Linked DNA regions of Homo sapiens: all the other regions are linked to region 2. The links are contacts of gene promoters, found by promoter capture Hi-C in blood cells and fetal thymus (Javierre and others, 2016). All regions are on one chromosome and are shown on one strand. The core of a region is centred on a gene start or on the middle of the fragment in contact, and the rest is flanking DNA. Distances in the headings are between cores, read along the strand shown. Region 1 overlaps HSD11B1-AS1 (HSD11B1 antisense RNA 1). Region 2 holds the start of G0S2 (G0/G1 switch 2). Region 3 overlaps TRAF3IP3 (TRAF3 interacting protein 3).

Evidence for each region. Contacts are between HindIII fragments. The CHiCAGO score rates a contact against its expected background, and 5 or more counts as called.
Region 1: a fragment that was not itself captured here is called in contact with the fragment with the promoter of G0S2 in region 2 in 2 of 17 cell types (neutrophils and monocytes); the score reaches 11.0 in neutrophils.
Region 3: a fragment that was not itself captured here is called in contact with the fragment with the promoter of G0S2 in region 2 in 2 of 17 cell types (neutrophils and monocytes); the score reaches 8.8 in neutrophils.

What each region holds. Positions count from the first base shown.
Region 1 is chr1:209,737,935-209,742,309 of GRCh38, forward strand. The region is part of intron 1 of HSD11B1-AS1 (HSD11B1 antisense RNA 1); the gene reads right to left. Among named protein-coding and RNA genes, the nearest start is that of HSD11B1-AS1, 2.4 kb to the right of the region's middle. The HindIII fragment of the contact is 5,906 bases long and covers 107-4,375 here.
Region 2 is chr1:209,673,170-209,677,770 of GRCh38, forward strand. G0S2 (G0/G1 switch 2) reads left to right here and starts at 2,243. Exons shown (of 2, transcript NM_015714.4): 1 at 2,243-2,380; 2 at 2,484-3,221. The coding sequence starts at 2,516. The coding sequence ends at 2,827. All of the region lies in intron 1 of HSD11B1-AS1 (HSD11B1 antisense RNA 1), which reads right to left. RefSeq lists enhancers at 1-74, 2,355-3,203. The HindIII fragment of the contact is 4,554 bases long and covers 1,806-4,601 here.
Region 3 is chr1:209,778,338-209,782,970 of GRCh38, forward strand. TRAF3IP3 (TRAF3 interacting protein 3) reads left to right here. Exons shown (of 17, transcript NM_025228.4): 14 at 978-1,037; 15 at 2,133-2,269; 16 at 3,008-3,121; 17 at 3,719-3,973. The coding sequence ends at 3,811. It overlaps C1orf74 (chromosome 1 open reading frame 74), which reads right to left. Exons shown (of 2, transcript NM_152485.4): 2 at 871-4,633. The coding sequence ends at 4,488. Among named protein-coding and RNA genes, the nearest start is that of C1orf74, 3.9 kb to the right of the region's middle. The HindIII fragment of the contact is 1,637 bases long and covers 1,957-3,593 here.

The DNA of each region.
Region 1 (4,375 bases), core at 1,810-4,309, 66 kb after region 2:
CCAAAGTGCTGAGATTACAGGCATGAGCCACCGTGCCCAGCCCGGTGTGCATCATTTAACTCAAAAGATCCCCCTTGGCCATGTTGCCCTCAAAGTGCTTCCTCTAAGCTTCCCCTCTTAATCTGACTTTGACCCCCCAGAGAATCCAGCCTCTAGCCTCCTTCTTCTCCCTCATAAATTTATTATGCACAGTTGATTCTGACTCTAGTTTGAGGCTATCCAGCAACATCTTTTTTAACAAAAATAGCCTCTTCCCACAAAGAAATTCCTTCACCAAATATTACATTTGTAGTAGCCAAGACAATTGAAAACAACCTTAATGTCTACCTATAGGGAAATGTTTAAATTATAGGAATTAAATTCAATATTATGAAATCACTGTGTCATGGTAACAAGGGATCAAGTCAATTTATATGTACATCCATGGAAGGAATTCCAAGGCATACTGTTAAGTGTATAAAACAAGTTGCTTAAAAAGATGCATAATATAATTCCATTTATGTTAATAAGTTATACACACACACACACACTCATGGAATGAGGATGTGTGGATTCCATGTGAATGGAATGGGGAAGCTAACTAGCATAAGGCACTATTGTAAGACCTGAGAAAATTAGGAACAGCTCTCTTCCAAGGAATACACCTGTGATTCTCAAACTGGCAGTGTTGCAAGTTGAACCGTGTCCCCAAAAAAGACATATTAAGTCTCTAATCCCTAAAACCTCAGAACATGATTTTATGTGGAAATAGATCATTCCAGATATAATTACTTAGGTGAAGACAAGGTTGCACTGGATTCAGGTGAGCAACATGACTAGCATCATTTTAAGAAGAAGGCCACATAAAGGCAGAGACACACAGGGACAACACCTTGTGATGACAGAGGCAGAGATGCAAGTGATGCAGTTGCAGGCCAAAGGACACCAAGGCTTGAAAACCCCTATCAGGAAGCAAGAAGAGGCAAGGAAGCCCTCTCCCCTACAGGCTGCAGTAGAAGTGTGGCCCTGTCAACAACTTGATTTCAGTATTCTAGCCCCCAGGACTGTGGATCAATAAATTTCTATTGTTTCAAGCCACTGCGTTTGTGGTACTTTCTTTGGCAGCCTTTGGAACCTAATAGAGGAAGTACTTTCTTTGGCAGCCCTAGGAACCTAATCCCTGTATTAGGGATCCCTAATACAGGGATATGTACCCCTTGCCCTGCTTCTCTTGGTGGCCCAAGATTATGATGTTATCATAATGTTATGATTATAATATTACCATAATCTTGGGCCACAAAGAGAAGCAAGGCAAGGGATACACATTCCTTGACCCAGAATTTTACTTCCAGGAATCCTGACATACAAATGTGATCTAATTAAAACAGAATCAAGTCATACCTCCATCAAAACCCATAATTATCCCATTCATTCTGAGTAAAGGCCAAAGTCCTTACAGAGACCTAAAAATCTTACATGATCTCGGTCCTCATTGGCTCTGAGACGGCATCTCCTTCTCTTCTCCCCTCATTGCTCAAGCACTCCAAGAGGCCTCGCTTGGCCTCCTATCTATTCCAGAGCATGCAAAATATGTTTCTACTTCTCTATACCACATGGCCAGCTGCCTTACTTCCTTCAGATTCATTCAAAAAGTTGCCTTTTCCTAGGCTAAGGACATGAATAGACAATTCTCAAAAGAAGATATACAAATGGCCAACAAACATGTGAATAAAATGCTCAACATCAGCCAGGCATGGTGGCTCATGCCTGTAATCCCAGCACTTCGGGAGGCTGAGTTGGGTAGATCACCTGAGGTCAGGAGTTCAAGACCAGCCTGGCCAACACGGTGAAACCCCATCTCTACCAAAAATACAAGAATTAGCCAGGCATGGTGGCAGCATCTGTAATCCCAGCTACTCAGTGGGCTGAGGCAGGAGAATCACTTGAACCTGGGGGGTGGAGGTTGCAGTGAGCCGAGATCACACCACTGCACTCCAGCCTGGGCAAGAGAATGAGACTCTGTCTCAAAAAAAAGAAAAAGAAAAAGAAAAAATCCTCAACATATCTAATGATCAGGGAAATGCAAATCAAAATCACAATGTGATACCACCTTACTCCTGAAGAAATAATCAAAAAAATCAAAAAATAATAGACATTGGCATGGATGCGGTGAAGAGGGAACACTTCTACACTGCTGGTGGGAATGTAGGCTAGTGCAATCACTATGGAAAACAGTGCGGAGATTCCTTAAAGAACTAAAAGTAGAACTACCATTTGATCCAGCAATTCCACTACTAGGTGTCTACCCAGAGGAAAATAAGTCGTTATACAGAAATGATATCTGCACATGCATGTTTATAGCAACACAACTCACAATTGCAGGAATGTGGAACCAACCCAAATGCCCATCAGTCAACGAGTGGATAAAGAAACTGTGATATATATATACACACACACACACACACACACACACACACACAATGGAATACTACTCATCCTTCAAAAGGAATGAATTAATGGCATTCACAGCAACTTGGATGAGATTGGAGACTATTATTCTAAGGGAAGTAACTCAGGAATGGAAAACCAAACATCGTATGTTCTCTCCTAAGTGGGAGGTAACCTATGAGGATACAAAGGCATTAGAATGACACAACAGACTTTGGGGGCTCAGGGGAATAGGGTGGGAAGGGGGTGAAGGATAAAATACTACAAACTGGGTTCAGTGTATACTGCTCAGGTGATGGGTGCACCAAAATCTCACAAATCACCACTAAAGAACTGACTCATGAAACCAAACACCACCTGTTCCCCAATAACCTATGGAAATTAAAAAAAAAATTTTTAGGTTGCCTTTTCAATGAAGCATTCCTTAGCCACCCTAAATAAAATTTCAAACCCACCCTGAAATGTTCTTTTTGTTTTGTTTTTTTGAGACAGGGTCTCTCTCTGTCACCCAGGCTGGAGTGCCAAGGCATGACACAGTTCACTCTAACCTCTACCTCCCGAGCTCAAGCAATCCTCCCACCTCAGCCTCCAGAGAGATGGGACCACAGGCATGTGCCACCATGCCTGGCTAATTTTTGTATTTTTTGTAGAGACGGGGTTTTGCCATGTTGCCCAGATTGTTCTCAAACTCGTAAACTCAAGATATCTACCCGCCTTGGCCTCCCAAAGAGCCGGGATTACAAGGATGAGCCACCATGCCAGGCCTGCCCTGAAATTTTATGTCTGCCTTCCCTGCTTGTTTTTTCTCCTTAGTACTTATTATTATCTATATTGTTGGTCATTTATCTTGTTTATTATCTGTCCTTGTCCCAGTTACTATGGTGACATAACAAATCATCCCAAAACTCAGTGGCTTAAAACATAAAATGACATTCGCTTCGCTTGCAAATCTGTAGTCTGAGCAGGCTCAGCAGGGATAGTTAATTTCTGCTCCACTCAGCAAGATTGGGTGGCTCAAAGGTCAGGAACTAGAATCACCTAAAAGCGTGATTGTGCCTGCCCTGGGAAGACATGAACAGCTGGACTCTGAAACAGGTAGGGCACTTTAGGTGCCTGGCTCCTTGGGCACCTGGAGCTAAGCAGGGAGGGCACAGCAGGAGTCTCTCTCATCTTTGTGTGATCTCTCCACATGGTCACTTGGAATGGCAGCTTTAGGGTTGCCAGACTGCTTGGAGGACTTGAGATCTCCAAAGGCAAGTGTCCCAAGAGAAAGAGCCAGGCAGAAGCTATATTGCCTTTCAGGACTGACCATACACTTTTGGTCGAAGCACTTCTGAAGATGCACCTCATTTCAAGGAAAAGGAATACAGACCCCACCTGTTGATGGAGGACTGTCATTGTCACATTGTAAGAAGAGCATGTGGGATGGATGGGCTAAAAATTGCTGCAGCCATCTTTAGAAAGTACCATCTGCCACATTCCCCCTGCTAGAATGTTGGTTTCATGAGGACAGGAGTTTTTTCTGTTTAGTTCAGTGTGCCCCCAGCACCTAGAGGAGCACCTGGCACATACGTGTGGGCCAGAGAAGATCATGAGGTATCTAGATGCAAGTGATAAACTGTTGTACCAGACCCAGAATCAGGAGCTTCTGAGGGTCACATAAACACAGGAAGAAGGCAGGTTTGCAGGAGCCAAGGCCCTGCAGATTGTCAAGAGGACAGGAGTGGGAGGGCTGATTAGGAGGTGAGGAAATGAGTACAGAGACAGAAACATGGTCAGGTGACAAATTGATAGCCAAAGTCAAGTTAAAATTAGTTTTTGCCTTTAGTCTGAACATGTAAGAGTTCTTCTTAGGCCCAAAGATATTGTAAGGTTTCAGCCCGTGTTCAGGATAAAGCAGCCTTTCTCTGATTCTGCTAATTTTGGGCTTATTCACCCCTCCATAGCA
Region 2 (4,601 bases), core at 993-3,492:
CTGCTCAGCCCCAGCTACCACCTAAACTAGGAAGATCAAGTCTACCAGTGACCTCCGTCCATGGCACTTGCTGCCCCTCCTCTGTCCAGCTCTTACCAATATAGCTGCTGGAACCTGGAGGTCAAAGTCAAATTATCAAAAAAAGGAACTGAGCTGGTGATGTGCACTAACACAGCAAATCACAGGAAAGGGGAACCCCAGGTAAATTACAGCCTTCTGACCTAGGAAGACGTGTGGTTTGCGTCTCTGAGTTACAGAAACACAGGAAATGCTTACTGGACCAGTCAATTTCAGAATTTTGGGTCCCAAGCTAGGCTGACTCACCTTCAGAATGGAAACCACGTGACAGCCCTTATATCAGGGCACACATCACATGCTCTTCCAGAAGTCAATGGGTTTGGAACCCTCACAGATATTGGGAAAGCTCACTAATCATTTCTGCCAGTTATCAGAGGTTGCTCTGAAACTATAAGGAAGATTCAAAGAAAATGCCAAGACTGATATTAAACTTGGCAGGAACCCTTGTTACAGAATTTTCCTGCCTGACAAGGTTAAAAGAACAATAAGCAGGAAACACAGTCCTCCAGGAATAATCAATTCTATTTGGCCCCTGGTCACCTTCACTCAGACTAAATTCTAAAACATAGAATTTCAAATAAGCTATTTAGATAACCTTGACCATTCTCCACACACAAGCCCTTGCCTGAACTATTAATAGTCAAGGCAAAGGGTAGTTGTTATTGCTGCCTTTTTAAACTGAATCATCTGAGAAATTGCTTCAGACCCCCAAAGAAAGATTACTGTTAACAATTCAAAAACTAAAATATTTGATCCCTGAGACAGCCTTTTCCCCCGACCCGCCCTTCAGGGCTCAGTCCGACCGACTGCAAAGGCTGTTGCAAGATTGCATCACTGACCTTTGCAATTTTCTGGCCAGTTTGATTTCCCCTTCTTTCCCCTGCCCCCTCCCTTTCTCTGCTTAAAGGCCTTTGGCCAATTTGCCTCTCCTTTTCCCCAAGTTTGCTAACCCTTTGGCCAATTTGCCTCTCTTTTTCCCCAAGTTTGCTAACTCTAGCATATCCATAACCAAAGCCAAACTAGAACGCTCCCTCAGCCCCAGGTGATTACAGCTAACCCTGGTCAAAATCAATCCTACATCTTCACACGTCCAAGAGTACTCACACTCTGGATTCTTACCTAAGCTGTCTACTACACGCCCTTCTGCCCACAAACTGCTTCAAAGCTGAAGTTGAGCTGGAGCAGTGAAGTTGTACCCCCAAACCCAGGAGGGTGGCAGAGAATTATTGAGGAGAGCATGAAATACTTCCATTCTAAAATGGCAGATGAACTTCTACCAACAGCCCCTTCCATACTTGACCCCCTACCCCCAAGCTCCCAACTCCACTTCTCAAGTGGAAGTGAGAACAATTTGAATTTGAAGGCTCTTCCCTGATACACGGAAGTACATAAGGAAACAGCTCGCAGGCAAAGAGACTAATCTCTCTCTCTTTCTCTCTCTCTCTCTCTCTCTCTCTCTCTCTCACACACACACACACACACACACACACACCTCTGTGCATAAAAGCACCATCAATGAATAGTTTTCTATCAACTGACTCTAGTTATACATGCATGTACCTCTAAATAAAACCAACCAGGCAGGAAAGAAACAATATTAGCACATATTGCTTTATCCAAGCGTAACCTGTTCTGTCCTGTTACCCAGATCCTTCCCCCTTGCCTTCTCCTCTCTGATCCATTGCCACACACGTGGGAAGGTGACAACCCTTCCGAATAAAAATGAAAGCTTTCTTCTTTAGATGGAACCCCCAAATTCCCTCATTATTTATAATGTCAGGCTGTCCTGGACAAGGGAAGCTGTGCACCCGCTGACACCAGTAAGAAGGTTGCCGCCATGTCAGAGATGTCCGCGGACACCTCCCTGGGCTCCGGGTCCTCCCCTGCGCTCGCCTGGAGTGGGACCTTCGCGTGCACACTGGCCTTCCCACGCGCCCCGCTGCGATGGCACCCGCGCCGGGCCCCCTAGCTCACACAGTCGGAGCGTGCTCAGCGCGTGGCCACCTCCTGCCAGGTCCCAGCCGGGTTCCACCCCCTCCTTTTCCCCTCCTCTTCTTCCTCCCCCTCCGAGTTCCCCTGGCTCTGACCGCGCTGGCCTGGGCCGGAGAGCCCAGGAGGCGTGTCTCAGAGAAAAGATATAAGCGGCCCCCGGACGCTAAAGCGGTGCCAGCGGCGGAGTCTCCAACTGGGAGAGCTGCAGCTGCCGAGAGGAGGAGAACGCTGAGGTCGGTCGGACCAACGGACGCGCTGACCGCTGCCAACTGCAGCTCGCGCTGCCTCCTGCTCGCGCCGTGCCACTAAGGTAGTCCGCCTTTCTATGAGCCCTCCCCAAGATTAGCTGGGTGCGGGGTGGTGGGAGCCGTTCTTTGGTGGCTGAAGCCCCTCTCCTGCTGCTCCTCCTGCAGGTCATTCCCGCCTCCGAGAGCCCAGAGCCGAGATGGAAACGGTCCAGGAGCTGATCCCCCTGGCCAAGGAGATGATGGCCCAGAAGCGCAAGGGGAAGATGGTGAAGCTGTACGTGCTGGGCAGCGTGCTGGCCCTCTTCGGCGTGGTGCTCGGCCTGATGGAGACTGTGTGCAGCCCCTTCACGGCCGCCAGACGTCTGCGGGACCAGGAGGCAGCCGTGGCGGAGCTGCAGGCCGCCCTGGAGCGACAGGCTCTCCAGAAGCAAGCCCTGCAGGAGAAAGGCAAGCAGCAGGACACGGTCCTCGGCGGCCGGGCCCTGTCCAACCGGCAGCACGCCTCCTAGGAACTGTGGGAGACCAGCGGAGTGGGAGGGAGACGCAGTAGACAGAGACAGACCGAGAGAGGAATGGAGAGACAGAGGGGGCGCGCGCACAGGAGCCTGACTCCGCTGGGAGAGTGCAGGAGCACGTGCTGTTTTTTATTTGGACTTAACTTCAGAGAAACCGCTGACATCTAGAACTGACCTACCACAAGCATCCACCAAAGGAGTTTGGGATTGAGTTTTGCTGCTGTGCAGCACTGCATTGTCATGACATTTCCAACACTGTGTGAATTATCTAAATGCGTCTACCATTTTGCACTAGGGAGGAAGGATAAATGCTTTTTATGTTATTATTATTAATTATTACAATGACCACCATTTTGCATTTTGAAATAAAAAAACTTTTTATACCATATCTCATGTAATTCCTGAGAGGTGTGGTGTCCTGGGGTGGGAAGCAGGGAGGGTGAGCAGGTGGGCGATGGTGATGGGTTCTTACCTGAGCACTGCAGAGGGAGCAGCTTCCTGAGGGTCAGACACTTGCTTCACACCTAGGAACTGTGTAATAAGTTACTACATGCATATAAGTCTGTTGAGGACTTGTTTTTCCTTCTTGTTAGGGGTGGGAAGAGAGAAAATTTTATAACTTCCGTGAGATTTAGCATTTTAACATCAAAAGGTAGATCAACTTCTGAGCTACAGTGAGTAGGAGATAACTGATTAATTCTAAGGCAGAAAAGCTCTTTGTTCCTTACACCTGTGCACCAGAGGTTCCCATGGCTGATACCTTTTTCTTCCCAACTATATTTTAGACAGACAGACAGAGAGAAGGAAAGAAAATGAAGGAGGGAGGTCTGGAGGTGAAGGGAAGGAAAGAAAGGAAAAACTATCTACCTGGCAGGAAAAGAGATAAGCTCCCAAGAACACCAAAGCAGATGATGAGTCTAGCTCTACCCAGCCTTCCTCCCCACGAATCCAGATCATAGTAAGAAACTCTGGGCTAGAAAGAGAAAAAAACCGGTTGTTACATATCTGAGTCCTCCTCCTCCAGTGTACAGAGCTTCATCTGTAGTAATAGCTAATTCAGTGACTCTATAGGGCTCAGCAAAACAAATTTTAAACTTTAAAGAAGTAGCCAGGAGCCAGAGGCATGGCCTTGATGCTAGTCTCCTCACATTTTTCATGTCACCTGTCCTAATCAGGTACTGACACTTTACTCCTTTCATCAACAGCTATGCATTTTTGCCAAACATATCACTGGCTCACACCATTGCCTCTGCTCAGACTCTCTCCTTCGTCCAATGCCCTACACACATCTCCATTTCATTTCTGCCAACTCAATTCCTACCAAGTGTTCCTGGCCCTGATCAAAAGCCATCTCTTTCTGAAATCTATTCTTATCACTCCCAAAGGAAAAAAGCAATCAGAATGTGGTAAGATTAATCAAGGAAAAGAAACATATTTGGAGTTTTAAAGGAAAAGAATGTCAGTGGCACCATGGCTCTCCCAGTTTCCAAAATGGGAAATTCAGCCCTATACCAAGGCAGAGCCTCACTTTCAATGTCCAAGAAACTTCCTAGGAACTGACTCAATTTTATCCTTCCTGCTGGTCTTCCAAAATGCCTCTTTTATTAATTACTCCTTTACCCATTCAGTTACCACCTTGTCTGGCTCTCAACCGCTCAAGCCACCCCCTGCACCTTCTAGCACATTCACCCTAAACAATCCCTTGTCAGACTGTCTTCCTTTAATATCTTTCATTCTGCTGCTCCTGAACTCAAAAACATCTGAGACT
Region 3 (4,633 bases), core at 1,525-4,024, 110 kb after region 2:
CCATAAATTATGTGTTAGCCTCTGTTCTTTTTTTTCTACTGTTCTCCTTCCATGCCAATGACACCACTTACATTTCCCCTAGAACTGCAGATTTTTTTTAAATACTGGGTTTCCTAAAGCAGTTCTTATTTTATATATTCTAATTTATGTACATGAATGTGTCACATAGACCTGTCATTAGAGATGGTTTAGAAAATAAGCTTACACTATACGTGCCTCAATCCACTTCAAAACTACATATTGGGCCCAAAGAGGAAAAGGGACTTCTCAGAAGAAAAGCAGTTTCTGAAAAGCTGGAGAACCTGACTCAATTAATACAGCTGCTGGTTGCCCACCACTTTAACCTCTGACACCTGATAGAGAAGCTTCATGAAAGCAGCAATGATTATTAAGAGAGCAAAGCAACCACAGGGAAAAGGGAAAATCTTCAAGCAAAGACTTGAAGATAGAGACATGGTAGGGGGAGATATAAGGATGCTATATTCATAGCAAAGTACCACAGACTGGGTGCCTTGAAGAACAGAAATGTATTGTCTCACAGTTCTGGAGACTAGAAATCCAAGATGTCAGCAGGGTTGTTTCCTTCTGAGGGCGTTTAGGGAAAGATCTATCCCAGGGCTCTTTCCTTGGCTTTGTAGATGGCCGTCTTCTCTCTGTGTCTCTTCACATTGTCTTTCCCATGAACATATCTGTGTCCATATTTCCCCTTCTTATAAGGACACCAGTGATATTAGATTGGGGCCCACCTGAATGACCCCATTTTAACTTGATTATCTTTTAAAGAATCTATCTCCAAATAAGGTCATTATTTAAGGTACTGAGGGTTAGGACTTCAACATATATATTCTGGGGGACAAAATTCAACACACAGCAGATGGGAACATATTTAATAACCAAGGTTCTAAGCAAAGTTCTGAAAAGAAAACTTTTTGTAGTAAATATGCTAGCATAGACAAGTTCCTTGTGTTTTCCAACAGGTTTGCTTCAAAATCAATCCTTACAGCTTCAAGAACAGGAGAAACTCTTAACAAAGAAAGGTCAGCAAATTTATTACCACAAATTCTAAGATATTGCTCTTCTCTTACCTGCCTAGAGGCAGCGGGATGGACTACATGACCTCCTGGAGTCCCAGCCAGTTCTGGGAGTCTGTTAAGTCCGGGATGTGTGGGAGCTTTTTAAGGACTGATCATTGGCTCTGAGGACACTTCAACTAGTTAGCCTTCTATCTTGAGGTATATAAACTGTGAAAAAGGGTTTCTATTCTCTCTGAAAGCACATGTCTGTGTTGAACATTTCAATAAATTTATTTTGAACTCAGGATTTCATGTCAATTTTTACACACTTGATTTTCCAAATCACATCCAACTCCCCAGCCCCAAACCACATAGCAGTCCAGAGTCAACTCACTGTTAGCCCTAGAGAGTCTACTGTCCATGTTTCCTGAGAATTCACTGTGTATACAGAGGGGCAATAGCTCCTCACCTGTCCACTACACACGACCTTTTGTTTTCTCTTCACAATCATTGGGCATAATATAATAGATAAGGCAGAAATTTTTATGCTCACAGAGTATGGATAAGAACATGAAAGTCTATGGTGACACAAACTAACAACACAGCTATAACAACAATCCAAAACTTCTGACTCCTAGTCCATGCTCTTTTCACCAAGACTAAGACTGCAGGGTGGCTAAAAAACCATCTTTAACCATATGAAGATAAATTTTAGGATATGACTGCCATCTTCACAACTTTCAAATGAGGACATCAGGGAAAAGGGATTGTATTAAAGCATTTACCAAACTTATTTGACAAACTAGGAAGAATGTGACATACAACCAATGAAATTCAATTAAGAAGTATTCACTAAAACTATCTAGCACTAGATAAGACTGGGGATACAAAGAAAAGATCCCAATCTTGCCCTCAAGGAGCTCAGATTCCAGCTGTCTGTCCAAGCTTAGCAGGGGCCTACTGGAAGTTAACCTTTATGTCAGAGAATGCCATCAGTCTAGCCAAGAGCACGCCCTCCCAAGTTCCCTCCCCTCTCCCCACTCCTAGTGGTTTCACCCTCAGGGCCCTTCCTCAGAGGTGTGGGCCTCACTGTCACCAAGAATCTGGCTGCTTTTTTAGATCAGGCTTTGCCCGTGTGGAGTCCAAAGTCCTTCCCTAACGAAGTGGAGCCTGAGGGTACAGGGAAGGAGAAAGACTGGGATCTCAGAGACCAGCTGCAAAAGAAGACTTTGCAGCTCCAGGCCAAGGAAAAGGAGGTGAGAGGGTGACCTGAGATAGTGAGGGCTCATTTGCGAAATAGCAGAGAAACCTGGGAGGCAGTCAAAAAGCAGGGATTTCAAAGTTTAAGTTGTGAGTGGATAACCACAGACATTCATTTGCCTACATAAAGTGTCTGTGCTTTTGGGCTGACTTGTCAATCTTTTCCCTTCCTTATTTATACCAACTCCTATTCAAGGTTTTATTAAATGATTACCTTTTAGAAAGTCGACCAAAACTCAAACACATTTAATAAAAATATTAACTTCTCAATATGTCGTCCCACATTGAGTATCTTAAGTCTTTATATGTCTCTTAAAGAGTAAAACTCTTCCTTTGTACATACTCACAAACATACACATCCCCAGAAGTATTGATATGCAACTAGCTCCTGGGAAAGAAACTTGTACTAAGGTCACTTCTAGGTCGTTTGTTCTATAAGAACTTCATTTTTCGGTGTCTCTCATTTGCAAAGCACTTGCACGTAAAGTCATATAAAAGAACTTAAATGTATAAAATGTAATACTATAATATGCATTACTGTCAATCATTTAAATGAACACATTCCAGACAATGTAAGACAGTCAAAAGACAAACTCAAATCCCTGAGAATGGCTGGGAAGGGAAGATGGTGGTAAAAATTCCAAATGAGTGAAACTTACAAAGGGCAGTCTCCCCTGCCTGGGCTCTGTCCTAGACAGAAGTGACAGTGATGACTTTGGTGATGTTCTCCCCAGTGCAGAGAACTGCATTCAGAATTAGACAACCTCAGTGACGAGTATCTCTCCTGCCTGCGTAAGCTGCAGCACTGTCGAGAAGAGCTGAACCAGAGCCAGCAGCTGCCTCCCAGAGTAAGAGGGTCTCTCCTTCCCATAAAGCCCTGGATGATGGGACGATTCCTTCTTTAACCAAGTTTTGCACATAAAATATATCAGCCCACGCCAACAACTGGCCATCCTGTCCCACTGTGCTTGGTTTATACTATACTGACATTATGGCAACCATTGAAAAAAACACTGGCTCGTCCATCAAAGCCCAACTTTCACAGAACTCTCAATGCCAGAAGGAAAGACTTACTCTTAGCTAAAGTATGAAAGGGTGTTCTTTTAGCCGATGATAAGCATGGTGGCAAGAACAGAAGGACACAAAAGTACTGGGGAATACAAAGAAAGAATATAATTTTGCTGGGTTATTTTCCACCCTTCATTATTCATATCAGTATTTATATATCTGGTCCCTGATGGATACGGCTCCCTGGGCCAGAGAACATTGGTTAAGTGGTTTTATCCCAAGACAGGTGACAAAATGGGAGACAGAGTAAAAAGCTTTTTCTCCACCACCAACCCAGCGTTTTCCACTGGGCTAGAGTAGGAAGAAGAAAGATTTTTGCCTATATCTTTTCCAATCCACTCATGGCCACTTTCTTCTGTCTCCCTGTCCCCCTACAGAGGCAATGTGGGCGATGGCTCCCAGTGCTGATGGTGGTGATTGCTGCAGCACTGGCAGTGTTCCTGGCCAATAAAGACAACCTGATGATCTGAATAATTTGTGACAACTGCCTTGGGTGAAAATCAGAAGCAAGCAACTCAGCGAAAAACTCAGAAGGTTTGGGTACATTACAGCTTGGGTTTTCCAACTGACTTAGGATTTCTGACTTTTTATTAATTTCTTAACCTACTGTAAATAAACTTCACCTGACCAGATTGTTCCTCAGAACTCTCAGTTTATTCCTGAATGGTGTATTACATTAACAAGTATCACATATTTAAGCATACTGGTGGTCTACTCTCCTCAAATTCAGTTGGAGGCATATAAACATGCAGAAAAGCCCCCAGCCCTACTTTCCTAGCATGCAGCACCCACATAGAGCAGGTATATTTACAAGGTTACCATGCAAGAGTGTTTGGCTTGTCTTCCATCACCCTGCTTTTCCTCTATCATCTCCTTCCTTCTATCTTTTATCCAGTGAAAATGAAAACATCTCCACTAAGAGGACTTCCTAGTATAGAAATGGCAAGTATGTACTATCTACCAATTTGCTACTAGCACCACCATTACCTATTTACATGCCCTTTGCATTTGTGGCCAACTGATCTACAGCATTGTGCCTTAGTGTATTCAAGACACTTGGAATTGGCAGTTGAGATGATTATTTGCCATCCCCAACCTAGAGATGATCATTTACTGAGTACCTTCTATATGGGAGGAGAGTTAAAGTCAGAGGGCCACAGCCGGCAGTGTGACTATCTCAGAGGAGATGCTGAGATCAGCAAAGTCATTCTGAGTCCTAAATCGGGTTCTGAGGTCCTTCTCCCAGGTGTTTAGAATGTCCCTCAGGCCTGGGAACAAACTCTCTGGGACAC